5 separate regions of the Homo sapiens genome follow, and all the other regions are linked to region 1. The links are contacts of gene promoters, found by promoter capture Hi-C in blood cells and fetal thymus (Javierre and others, 2016). All regions are on one chromosome and are shown on one strand. Each heading gives the region's core, a stretch centred on a gene start or on the middle of the fragment in contact. The rest is flanking DNA. Distances are from core to core; before and after follow the strand shown.

Region 1 (2,603 bases), core at 62-2,561:
TCATCAGATGCTCAAAGGAAACTATGAGCTAAAAAGGTTAAAATAGTACATGACCCTTCTTTCTTTTTTTCTCAGTTTTCAAATGACACGAAGCCTGACAAGATCCTTTAACTATGTAATGCTCTTTCTACAGCTCCAGGATGCTTTCCTTGCTTTTAACCATAAGTGTAATCTGCACCGTGTGTATTTCACTTCCTAACACCCAATCATCCATAACCATAAGAGAACATCAATAACTCAGAAAGCAGTAATACTCCAAGCAATTTATATGTGGTACTAGCATACACCAAATAATTTATATGTAGTACTATATGTTTTTCTGGGGAACAAACTTTCTAATGTGTAGTTTAGACATAAATAGATGGAGTACATAAAAACTAAGTGATCAAAAAGGTGATTAGAAATAGAAGAATAATTATCTTGAACAAATACAAAGGTCCAGCTATAAAGTAGATAATCCACAAAAAGACACAGAATTGGGAACCAGGAGAAACTCAGACCCACAAAATGAAGCTTATCATGCAGAAGACAGCCCAAGAATCCTAGACAATTATTTGATTCATTCAACAAATATTTACAGAGCATCTAATTTACGGCAGGCAGACTTTCTGCGCTTATGTATTCATAGGAATAAAATTAATAAACCAACAACTCTCTCCCTTTCCTCTTCCACACCCACCTTATCGATAATGCTGTTAATAATGAGAGGATTTTTCAAAATGTGCTGCCCAATCCCCGTGTTGAACATGAGTCCTGTAAGAAAATACGAAACAGCATTAATTTTCCTACTGAGATTAGATATTAGGCAGTACCAGAGAAGAAAGCTGCATGGGTATGGGGAAGATTTCTGCGCCAACCAGGGCCACGAAACGTCACGCCAGGACTGACAAACTCTTTATAAGTTCATCCTCCAGCTGGAAAGGAAGTCAGCGGCGACGCGCAGGGCCTGCGGCCGAGTCGGGGACCCACCCCTGCCTTCCGCGCTCACGGGAGCGCGTCCTGACCGGCCTCTGCCGATCAGGTCTTGGTCCGCACCCCAGGCTAGGTCCTGCCGGAAGACCTGACCCGACCGACCCCAGCTTCCTCGCGGGGATCCGCACCTCCAGCGCTCTTCAGCTCCCGGCGCTGCTCCTGCCGCCCGCGGCGGCGGCCGATGGCCCCCGACTTGACCTTCGGCATCTCGGCAGAAAGCGGGCCCACAGGCCCGGGACGTCAAGGAGGACCAAAGAGGGCTAGCGTGAGAAAGCCACCACGTGGGGATCGCCGCCACGCGCCGCCCGCACCACTCTGGCCCAAGCGCCGGAGGGGCAAGGGTCCGCCCCCTCCCGTACGCTCTGAGCTCCTCCTCCAGAAAAAGGGCGGACCTTGGAGCCCACTGACTGCCGGGAATTGGAGTCACAGAGGGAGGAAGGCCGAACCGCGGGAGCCTACAGATCCCAGAAGACACCGCGCTACCGAGGACTGCAGTCTGGAGTTGGAGCCCTTGTCCCAACCAGGGCTGGATAAGAAGGTGTTGGTGTGGTGCTCTCGGTGTTGCGAAGGCTGTTTAAGTTATATGATGAGGTTAAGCCTATGGATGTTTTAGTAGCCTAGGTTCTGGGATCGCTGAGGTCCAAAGAAGTATTCACGTGCCTCGCTCCTGTTTTCCTGAAGCTTGTGGGGGTGGGAAACCCGGGATTTGGGGATGAGCTTGCTCTTTTGTGGGAATGCATTTTTTGCTGCTTGCCCTGGGGAAAAGAACTGCGAGAATGGAATTAACGTCTGGTTTCGCTAGGGCTACTGGTTGCTTCTACTAAGAATAGAAGAGCCGGGCGCGGAGGCTCACGCCTGTAATCCCAGCACTCTGGGAGGCAGAGGCGGGCGGATCACAAGGTCAGGAGATCGAGACCATCCTGGCTAACACGGGGAAACCCCGTCTCTACTAAAAATACAAAAAATTAGCCGGGCGTGGTGGTGGGCGCCTGTAGTCTCAGCTACTTGGGAGACTGAGGCAGGAGAGTGGCGTGAACCCAGGAGGCGGAGGTTGCAGTGAGCCGAGATCGCGCTACTGCACTCCAGCCTGGGCGGCAGAGCGAGACTCCGTCTCAAAAAAAAAAAAAAAAAAAAAGGAATAGAAGAATAATTATCTTAAACAGATACAAAGCTCCAGCTACAAAGTAGATAATCCACAAAAAGACAGAATTGAGAACCAGGAGAAACTCAGACCCACAGAATGAAGCTTATCGTGCAGAAGACAGCCCGTGAATCCTAGAAAATTATTTGATTCATTTAACAAATAATTCAACAAATTCCTTTTGTGCCTCATCATTCACTCCGTAAACATTTATTGAGCTCCAACTGTGTATCAAACACTGCTAGGGATTCTAAGTAAGAAACTTATTTCAAAGTGTATTATATTGACAGAGATGGACAGAAACTCCAAAACGCTGTAAATACGATAACGTATTGGTCGTTGTGACAGGACAGTGTACCTGACTATAAACTCCGTGTGTACCAGGGCCATAATATCCACATCTGTTTTGCCAGCCAGTGTAATGGCTCTTTTAAATTTTTCTGTGTGTATTCTGTTTGGTTGAAGAAATAGCTTCTTCCTGTCATTACTA
Region 2 (2,603 bases), core at 29-2,528, 3.2 Mb after region 1:
ACAATCTTGCAATAATAAATTAACATTCTAGCTCTGAGGAGTTCAACTAAGAAATTTTCTCATCACTAAGAGTAACTGGATTACTGCAGAATGACTACAGAAGTAATATTACATTATCGACCATGTGAGAGTGATCCCACACAACTGCCAAAAATTGCAGAAAAAGCAATTCAAGACTTTCCTACTCGTCCGCTATCAAGATTTATACCTTGGTTTCCATATGATGGGTCCAAGCTTCCACTCAGACCTAAAAGATCACCACCTGTGATTTCTGAAGAGGCAGCTGAAGATGTGAAACAGTACTTAACCATTTCAGAACATGATGCTAAGTCACACAGTTATGATTGCACAGTAGATCTATTGGAGTTTCAACCTAGCTTGAAAAAGCAGCATTTAACCTGGTCACACACACTGAAGGAACAGACTAATTCTGGAAATCTGGGTAAACAATCAGAAAAGGGAAAACAGCACAAGAGGAGATCTTGGAGTATTTCCCTTCCCAGCAATAATTGTACTAAAAACGTTTCTCCTTTGTCTAAAAAATTGCAAGATAGTTTAAAGGCACTAAATTTACACTCACTTTATAGAGCAAGATGGACAATAGAACACACTATTTGTAACAGCCAAACTCTGGAAGACATTTGGACAAAACTCAATCAAATTATTAGGCACAATGAACTTCCATCTTGTAATGCTACAATTCAGAGGCATTTAGGCCAAATATGGGTGTTCTGTGATATTATGTATTGTGAATATGTGGGAAGTCTTCTTAAAGGAAGATTAGCTCTTACTGGAAAAATTAATTTATTTGTGCATAAATATGGTGTTATTTTTAGTATGTAATGAATTCCACTGATTGTCAAAAAGAATATTCTGAATGAAATGAATATGGATTGAAATAGATAAAATAATTTTTACAGGTTTTAAAATTTTTAATGACTTTTTAGAATTCCTAGGCTTGTCAATTAAGTCAAGAAATTGCTGAGTTCTGCTTATTGGCAGCCTTCTTTTAAATGTGATAAATTATTGTTTACACTGAATTTGAAGGTAAAAATGTTCTGTTCCTTTTGTTACAAACTGTGATTGAATTAGTCATGAATTAAGTTGTATAGTTTGGATTTTGGTTAATCTCTAAAATCTAATTTTACTGTATTTTTTTCCTTACCTCAAGTGTAATTTTTTAAAAAATAAAACTCGAAACAATTCTCTTTGGAGTGCTATTTATGTGGCATGAATGTAGTTCAAAGTGGGAGACTAGTCTAGATTTATAATGATGTTTCCAAAGATATGTAATAACAATTGATAGGCTGTTTTCAAACAACGATACAAAATGTATACTTTGCCTAAAACGATAATGTATCCTGTTTTGAAGGAAAGTATCAAATGTTGAATGATTGTTTATTTCTTCTAATACAGATAATTCAGTATTAATGATAGTTAGTGCTAATTATTACTTGGCTGATGATTGGAGTCATTGTAGGTTCCCCATAAGCATAATCTTGTAATTGGTTTTACACATCACCTCATAAAAATGCTCAAAGGGATTAAAACAGTAAAAGTTTTGTAGAAGCATGTATGTTTGTTTAACATATTTAAATGCCTACTTTGCACTAGGTGCTAGGATATACTAGGGAAGGAGACAGACATGGACCTTGCCCTCACACAGCTTACATGTCATTACTACTATTAAACACACCAGCTCCCTAAGAAAAATAAGACTGCACTTAACTAGGAATATAGACATGTTTACCTTGAAGCTCAGTGCCTGTCATGGTAGGAGCTTGATAATGCATGGTAAACATTCCCTTCAGAGGGATTCTTCATAGCCTGAGATGGCTGAGGTTGCTTAAAATGGAAGCCCACTAATTTTTTTTTCTTTCTAACTTTTATTTTAGGTTCAAGGGGTACATGTGCAGATTTGTGATATGGGTAAATTGTGTGCCACAGGGGTTTGGTGTACAAATAGTTTTGTCACCCATGTAATCAGGATAATACCCAATAGGTAGTTTTTTAGTCCTCACCCCCTGCCACCTTCTACCCTCAAATAGGCCTCAGTGTCTATTGTTCTGTTTTTTGTGTCCATGTATACTCATTGTTTATCTCTCACTTATGAGAATATGTGGTATTTGATTTTCTGTTCCTGCATAAATTGGCTTAGGATAATGGCCTCCAGTTGCATCTACGTTGCTGCAAAGGCCATAATCTGAAAATATGAAGAAAAAAGTTGCTTTTAATACCAAGTTGGGATCACTTTATTTTTAATGGAGGATCATTTTTTACCCACCATCTCATCCCCTGCTAAACCACAGGAATCATGAAAAACTAAGCTTTATAGGACTTTTCTTTATAATAGAAATTGGAACCTATAATAAGCAAATATGTTAGCTACATGTTTGGGTGAACTCCAGGACACTAAGAAAAAAAAAAAAGGAATGTTTCAGGATTCCCTTGAGACTGTATTTTCTCTTTATTCAGATTTGTTTTCTAATGAAATGAAAAAAATAATAGGGAAGAAATAGAAAACACCAACTGGTACTAAAAGTGAACTTACCAGCCTGGGCAACATGGTGAAACTCCGTCTCTACAAAAACTACAAAAATTAA
Region 3 (2,603 bases), core at 37-2,536, 3.2 Mb after region 1:
TGCCTGAGCCAAATCAATTTTTCACGAACATGAGCATCAACAACACTTAGAGCCATTTCTTCTTGACGACACAGAGTTTCATGTAGATCATAAAAATAAGCTCGAATACATGACCGGGCATTCTCTGCAGTCCCTGGTACCTAAGAAAATGAAAATAAATTTTAAGCAACTGTAATGTTAATAAAGATTTTACCTGTGAAATATTTAAAATTTCAGCCTAGGCAACATGGCAAAACTCTGTCTCTACAAAAAATGGAAAAAATTAGCCAGCCGTGGTGGCATGTGCCTGTAGTCCCAGCTACTCAGGAGGCTGAGGCGGGAGGATTGATTGAGCCCCAGAAGTCAAGGCTGCAGTGAGTGGTGATCACAACACTGCATGCCAGCCTGGGTGACCGAGCGAGACATTGTTTAAATACCATCTATATTAAATTCCAAAATATAAATCTCCATGCTAGATCTTTCCCCTAATGCACAGACATTGGAAATTCAACTGTTTATAAATGACATCTCAAGCAAAATGGAATGCCTAATCTCCAGTCTCCCCTATTCCCAAACCTAATTGCCTCTGTCTTGGTAAATGGCAACTCCATCCTTCAGGATGTTGAAGCAAAAACAACCGGAGTCATCATTATCAGCTCTCTTTCATAGCCCACTAGTCCCTCAGCAAATTCTGCTGACTTCAAAATACACCCAAAATCTGATCATGCCTCATCACCTCTAAGTTACCTATCCAATCAATATTAACAATTAATCACTAAGACCTATCTATTCTACTTATTTAAAATCTCAAATCCATTGACTTGTGTCCACTCTCACTACCCTAGTGTATTATAGGCCATAAACATCTCTAGTATTTTAACTAGAAAACTTTAACAACATCCTAATAGGTCTGCCTGCTTCCAATTTTGTTGCTCCTCCAATTCATTTTCTACATTTAAAACAACCTTTCTTGAGGAAAATCTGATTATATCATTCCTAAGTCAATTCTTCAATGGCTCATCACTGTCCTTAAACTAAGTTCTGAACTCTTTAACATGGCTGACAAGATCCTGCATGATTTGGCTTTGAACTCTCCATATCCTCTTTTCTTGTCATGTCCCATTCAATACTTAAAGCTCTAACTACAGTGAGCTTCTTTAAGTCTCTACAATATGTACAATCCTCACTTACAAACATTTTAACATATTGTTCCCTTCTTGGGACAACTCATTCCCCGTTCTGCTCTTTTCCCTGACTGAAATTCTTCAAATCTCAGTTTAAACACCATTTCTTCTATAAGGACTTCTCTGACCTCCATAAATCATTGTCCCTGTTTTGTGATGCCAAAGCACCCTGTACTTCTCCTCCATAAAATAGTTACCATATTTCAAACTCTCTCTTTTCCATGATGAATGAGTTCCTGAAAGACAGGGACTTTTAAAAAACTTTCTAATGATTGGTGCAATACTGGCAAATTGTAATTGCCCATTAATTACTTAGTAGAAGGTGAAAATATGAAAAATAAAAAAGAATGAGAAAGTGAAGAAGAAAAAAAATCCATACATGTTCTGTGTGAGCCATTCCAATTCCATCTTCCACGATTTGTTCTCCTCCTTCAATGTGCTGCACAATTCCAACTAATTTTCTGGAATAATCTGAGATTTCCTCTGTGAAGGTCCGTATGCAGTGAGCCATATCTAAAATTGATGCTCGGATCTGATTAGCTTCTGGTTCCAATACTGAATGCTATAAAATGTACCATAATTAGAGAAAAGAACTCATAGTATTGACTAATAATATAAAAAACTATTTAAATCCCTATTAATACAAAAAAGCATCAGCCACAAGTGACTTTTATGACACAGAAAAATACTAATTTACTTTCACTCCTTTATAAGAAAACTGTACTGCAAAGAAGTAATTTAAAATTTGGAAGTCCGTTTATTGCTAAACAAAAAACCAAGAGACTATCTCTAAAATCATATCCTAAGTAAGAGCTAACAGACATAAATATTGTCAAAACAATCTGGTGCATTATGAAAACATGCAAGCAAACAGAATGTTTGTTTCCTGCTCGAAAGCTATTTTTTTGTGAAGAATCATGATGCCTCTTTGAAGTTTTTTTTTTTTTATAACATTCAGAAATTAAATCTCTCATTTATTTTCATGCTACCAAACCCAATCACTCATCACTTAACTCTTCTTCAATCCCTACTTTCAGAATAAAGAACCAGGTCAGTGAAAACGAATACTGAGCTGGTAAAGTAGCTACAGTGATCCAACTGATTAATAATTAAATTCATACCTTGTGACCCTGGTGTTTTCCATATTCTTTGCAGACACAGCACATGAGTGGGCTAGTTTGACAACCTTCTTCCAAGCAAACAAACTCAATGGCATGCACCTGGTGCTGAGAGCACATAGTTTTCTCATGAGGTTTATCAGCTAGAGGAACTCGCCTGTGCTTTGCTAATGTCTTTGTAGAATGAGTAACTTGAGAACACTCAGAGCACAAATGAGTTGCACACACAGTGCAATATACAGAGGCAAGGTGAGCTTCATCTTCATCACAACGAATGATGCTCTGATAAACAAAAAATTAATGCCTTAAAATTGAACCCAAT
Region 4 (2,603 bases), core at 1-2,500, 3.2 Mb after region 1:
AATATAGTGAGACCTTGTCTCTTAAGAAAAAAACATATTTTTAAGGTGCTATGGCTGTATTTTTTTTGACTGCTAAATGACCTTGAAATTTTAATACTGTCAAACTCAAATATTAGTTAAGCAGTCATGTTCTAAAGATAACTAAGTTGAACAATAAGAATATACTACTTACATGACCCTCCGTGCTTGTCCTGAGATTAGAGATTATGAAAAAAAAAAACAACTGTCCTTCTGAAACATTCAGAAGACATGGAAAGGAAACATCATTAGGAAGCAGAACTGCAAAGAAAACTGTTTTAAGATGCTCTGAATAGGTTTCATATTTGTAACATATGTCTTAATAGGTGCCCTAAGACAGTGGAAAACTTCTGTGTTCACAGCAGAAATGGTTATTATAATGGGCATACATTTCACCGTATAATTAAGGTAAGTTACATAAATTTCATGTCATATAAGAAATACTGTATTATTACATAGCAAGAGATTTAAGCGCAAGGAATCTTCTTCTCTCACACTTAATCAGTTTAGTGGAAAGGAACAGGAAAAATACACTATGGAAGCCAAAGGAGGAGTGGATGGTCATAAATATCAACATCTAGAATCAACAGGAATAGTGGCATGATTAGAAACACTGAAGCAATATTTTGTCAGCAGCTAAAGTAAAGGGTAAGATAATGAATAAAGGGTCATGCTGAGATTACATCAGTAACCTAGGTAACCTCTTTGTCGTGGCTAGATAGGGTCTAGATCTAGAAGATATGATTTTTCAATCATAGAGGAGCCACAGTGCCATCTGATCTGTGAGAACCTGTAATATACCAGAGGAGGAGAGAGAACTCAGCCCCTGGATTTTGTTGAGCAGCTTTCCATAAAGTGGATGGGGCACTGATACAGTGCTTGGTTTCTGGCAGGTCAGAAACGGCAGGATGAAAAGTCAGATCTCAGGGTCCTAAAGGAATTAGCGAAAAGGCTTTCCAGGAAATCCAGAGTATTTGGGGAAAGGGAGAGGGAGAAGAGGAGGGCAATTATATAAAACATAACATACAGATCCTAAAATTGATAGTATTAACTGGCTTTATTTGGGTTATTGAGAAAGACAGAACATGTCTATAAATGAGAAGACGACCTTTGCATTTATGTTTCAATCAAGGTGGTGGTTGGGCAATGGAAATACATCATCCAAATTTAAGTGTTAAGGGTTTAATCAAATCACTTTATAGTGACAGTTAATATTACACTGAATACAAAGCACTCTTGGCAGAAATAAAACTTCAAAGCGTACATATATCGAAAAGGACAATGTAATGTTTTTGTGTACTTTCTGTTAAGGGCTTTATGATTCAGACTGGAGATCCAACAGGTACTGGTATGGGAGGAGAAAGCATATGGGGAGGAGAATTTGAAGATGAATTTCATTCAACATTACGACATGACAGGCCATACACACTCAGCATGGCTAACGCGGGATCAAATACTAATGGATCCCAGTTTTTCATAACGGTAGTACCAACGGTAAGTACAGTATCATTGTTTATAAACTACAGATTGATAGGTTATGATGTAAGAGAGTGAACTCAGTAGAAGAGCTGCATTATTCTGTATTTTCTGCATTATTTATATCATCTAGCAGAATACAAATATGAAAATGATCAAGAATATAAAATTATGTGACTAATCAGTTTAGAATTGGTAAAACAATACTGCCACTGTAGTAAGAAATACAATGGACTACGATTCAAGATACTTGAGTTTCAATCTCAACTCTGCCTCTACTGATGATGTAACCTAAAATAAATTATTTCACTTCTGTGAGCCTATTTCCTTGTCTTTAGAATACAAAGATTAGAGTATATGAATTCACAATTTTGAGACAATTTCCCCCACATTTTAGTATCTCTGAAATCAGAATACATTAGATTTGATGAAATACAGTATAAGGTAACCTAGCTCTATTGCTATGCCATAACACAAAATTATAAAAATTACCTAGTTTTTGTTTTGGAATTAAGCACTAAGTGATGAAGAAGGGAAAAATGTAACTACCATCTGCCAGGCACATAGTTTTATGTAGTATTCACAGTACTTCTACTATCAGTATCCCCAGTTTTCAATAATAGATGAAGAAACAGTGAGACATGATTAACTTGCCAAAAGGTCAAGTAGCCAAGCTAGCATTTGAACTCCCACCTGTCTAATGCCAAAGTATGTGCTGCATAAACTATTTCAAACTGCCTCTGAATAAACTGTTCAGGTAAGAGTCCTCCAGAGACCTTTTAAAGCCTTAGCCACAATTCTGTAAGCCATGTGAAGTAACTTACCTTTAGGGAAGATCTTCCAGTTCCCTTTGGTCTGAAAGATGCAGATATTTAATTAAACATTATACTATGCTTCTATTTTTTTTAACACACTGGAAATAACTTTTAAAAGCTGCTACATTTTTATTGCTGAGAAATTATTGTACTTCTTTTTAAATATATGCTAAAGGGGAGCGTAAACTTAAATTCTCTTTAATTTGCTCAACCAGAGGATATAATTTAAAGAAATTGGGGTTTACCAAGATTTTCCATTTGTCCTCCAACACAGCCTTGGCTTGATAATAAGCA
Region 5 (2,603 bases), core at 63-2,562, 3.1 Mb after region 1:
TATAACAAAATACTACAGACTGGAGATCTTATAAAAATTTATTTCTCACAATTCTGGCAGCTAGGAAGTCCAAGATTCAATGTCTACTGAGGGCTCACCTCTTCACAGACAGTACCTTCTAGTTGTGTCCTCACAAGATGGAAGGGGAGGACACTGGTCTCTTCAGACGTTTATAAGGGCATTAATTTCATTTATGAAGGCCCTACACTCAGCACCTAATCACCTCCCAAAGGTCTCACCTCCTAATATCATCACACTGGGGAATAGATTTCAACGTATGGATTTTGGGAGACACAAATATTTAGTCCACAGCAGAAGGAGAGATGTATGTATGGGGTCATTAAGCGATGTTTAATATTTTGCTTTTATTGTGAAGTTTAACTAAAAACTAGATATGAGATTAAGGTTTACATATAACCACTAACTTCAGTAATAGTTCTGATGCAAAAACCGAGTTCAAAATTCAAATCTTTAGGCCAGGTGTGGTGGCTTACGCCTGTAATCCCAGCACTTTGGGAGACTGAGGCGGGCAGATCACGAAGTCAGGAGTTCAAGACCAGCCTGGCTAGCATACTGAAATCCCGTCTCTACTAAAAATACAAAAATTAGCCGGGCATGGTGGTGCATGCCTGTAATCCTAGCTACTCGGGAGGCTGAGGCAGGAGACTCACCTGACCCTGGGAGGCAGAGGTTACAGTGAGCCAGGATTGTGCCACTGCATTCCAGACTGGGCAACAGAGCGAGACTCCGTTTCCAAAAAAAAAAAATCAAATATTATGTTCAATAAAACATAAATAAAAGCAGAAAATTTAATATGGTTTTAGAGTGGTTTTATCCTATTTCTTATGCCATGAACTTATCTAAAATAGATCTAGTTAGAAATTATTTGGGGTCACTACAAATTCATTGAGTGGCTTACCTCTTCTTTTCCTAATGTTATGAGAACGTCTTCAGTCAAGGGAATTGCTACAAAAACAAAACAAAACAAAGTTACACATATATTTAGTTAATTCTCAAAAATCAAGAATTTAATTTTGCGGTTTTCTAAGATACTTCTTTCCATCTCCATTTATATAATATACAACTTTTTCTCCCCTCCAAGGCAGAGTTTCCCTCTTGTCACCCAGGCTGCAGTGCAATGGCGCTATTTGGCTCACTGCAACCTCCACCTCCCTGGTTCAAACAATTCTCGTGCTTCAGCCTCCTGAGTAGCTGGGATTACAGGCATCCACCAACATGCCTGGCTAATTTTTGTGTTTTTAGTAGAGATGGGATTTCATCATGTTGGCCAAGCCAGTCTTGAACTCCTGACCTCAAGTGATCCACCTGCCTTGACAATACACAACTTTTTACGAAATGTGTGCAGTTTTCATTTTATTTATTTTTAACATCTTTGCACATATAGCCAACTATATATAATTTTAGATAAATTTGATCCTATTTATGTACTGTTTAGTGCCTTTTTCTTTTCTTCTTTTGTTCTTCAAACCCTCAAAAGGGAAGCTAATAATCTATAGTGTGTTCCTCAAATACTTTCCCTGTAGTCATATATCCTATGTACACATATGTAACATACATTTACATACACTTAAAAGGGTTATTTTTATCATCATTGGTTTTACAAGAATGGGGTCATATCACACATATTATATTCATCTTACTTTCACTCAATAAAACCCCCAGGGAAACCTAGACCTATATAGGTCTAATTCATAACTTTTAATGGCTGCATGATATTCCAAAATGAATATACCATAATATACTGAGTGATTGCCCTCTTGATTGAACACTTTTAGATTAACTTTGTGTCTAGTTTCTAGTCATAACAAACAAGGATGCAGTAAGCAGACTTTTATACACGTTTTTATGTACTGGTGCTCTCATTTCTATAGAACAGATTCTCAGAAATGAAATTTCAGAGAATGAAATGTGTACTTTGAATCTGAATAGAGAATGTCAGCTTCCTTTCTAAAGACATTTCCATGAGCTATGAAGAAAAAACAGCAAGAAATATTACAAACTCTTCTAAAATTTTTGCCAGCCTGATGAGTAGAAACAAATGTGTAATTTTGTATAGCAAATTTTAATGCGTTCAATCCTTATGCTAGAAATTTTCCTTTACTAATGAAGAGCTATTTGAAACTTCTCAAATAGTAGGCTACTGAAAACTTTCAAAGGTATCTGCTATTCTAGAAAGCCTTCTAACAGGGAAGAACTTTCTACATGTGCTTCATAGATAGGTTTGTATTAGAATATTCAGTGCCTTGGAAGGGTTTGCTCTCTGCTTCCAAGATGGTGTCTTCTTGCTGTGTCCTCACATAGTGGAAGGCAAAAGGGGAAAAAAAGACTAGATACTACCTTCAACCTCTATAAGAAGCTCACTAATCACATCCTAAAGACCTCACTTTTTAACACTATCATAATGGTGATTAAGTTTTAACATGAATTTTGGGGGATATATTTAGGCCACAGCAGACAGCTACTATCAAAAAAACAGAAAGTAACAAGTGTTAACAAGGATGTTGAGAAACTGAAACCATGTGCACTGTCGGTGGGATTGAAATATGGTGTGACCATTATGGAAAATAGTATAGGTGGTTCCT

The links. The method cuts DNA at HindIII sites, captures the fragments that hold promoters and counts their contacts. A CHiCAGO score of 5 or more calls a contact.
Region 2: a fragment that was not itself captured here is called in contact with the fragment with the promoter of DIMT1 in region 1 in 7 of 17 cell types (total CD4 T cells, naive CD4 T cells, naive CD8 T cells and 4 more); the score reaches 13.0 in total CD4 T cells.
Region 3: a fragment that was not itself captured here is called in contact with the fragment with the promoter of DIMT1 in region 1 in 2 of 17 cell types (naive CD8 T cells and total B cells); the score reaches 8.6 in naive CD8 T cells.
Region 4: a fragment that was not itself captured here is called in contact with the fragment with the promoter of DIMT1 in region 1 in 2 of 17 cell types (naive CD8 T cells and naive CD4 T cells); the score reaches 8.5 in naive CD8 T cells.
Region 5: a fragment that was not itself captured here is called in contact with the fragment with the promoter of DIMT1 in region 1 in 1 of 17 cell types (naive CD8 T cells); the score reaches 5.2 in naive CD8 T cells.

What each region holds. Positions count from the first base shown.
Region 1 is chr5:62,402,594-62,405,196 of GRCh38, forward strand. It overlaps DIMT1 (DIM1 rRNA methyltransferase and ribosome maturation factor), which reads right to left and starts at 1,312. Exons shown (of 12, transcript NM_014473.4): 1 at 1,101-1,312; 2 at 680-753. The coding sequence starts at 1,179. RefSeq lists an enhancer at 1,233-1,522. The HindIII fragment of the contact is 1,140 bases long and covers 512-1,651 here.
Region 2 is chr5:65,629,498-65,632,100 of GRCh38, forward strand. All of the region lies in intron 1 of TRAPPC13 (trafficking protein particle complex subunit 13), which reads left to right. SHLD3 (shieldin complex subunit 3) reads left to right here. Exons shown (of 2, transcript NM_001365341.2): 2 at 1-1,431. The coding sequence starts at 91. The coding sequence ends at 843. Among named protein-coding and RNA genes, the nearest start is that of TRAPPC13, 5.8 kb to the left of the region's middle. The HindIII fragment of the contact is 2,093 bases long and covers 233-2,325 here.
Region 3 is chr5:65,609,319-65,611,921 of GRCh38, forward strand. TRIM23 (tripartite motif containing 23) reads right to left here. Exons shown (of 11, transcript NM_001656.4): 4 at 2,285-2,563; 5 at 1,543-1,725; 6 at 1-140. Among named protein-coding and RNA genes, the nearest start is that of TRIM23, 14 kb to the right of the region's middle. The HindIII fragment of the contact is 3,505 bases long and covers 1-2,603 here.
Region 4 is chr5:65,584,670-65,587,272 of GRCh38, forward strand. PPWD1 (peptidylprolyl isomerase domain and WD repeat containing 1) reads left to right here. Exons shown (of 11, transcript NM_015342.4): 9 at 345-426; 10 at 1,330-1,512; 11 at 2,584-2,603. Among named protein-coding and RNA genes, the nearest start is that of PPWD1, 23 kb to the left of the region's middle. The HindIII fragment of the contact is 3,088 bases long and covers 1-2,603 here.
Region 5 is chr5:65,541,883-65,544,485 of GRCh38, forward strand. It overlaps CENPK (centromere protein K), which reads right to left. Exons shown (of 11, transcript NM_022145.5): 6 at 920-966. Among named protein-coding and RNA genes, the nearest start is that of CENPK, 20 kb to the right of the region's middle. The HindIII fragment of the contact is 5,104 bases long and covers 1-2,603 here.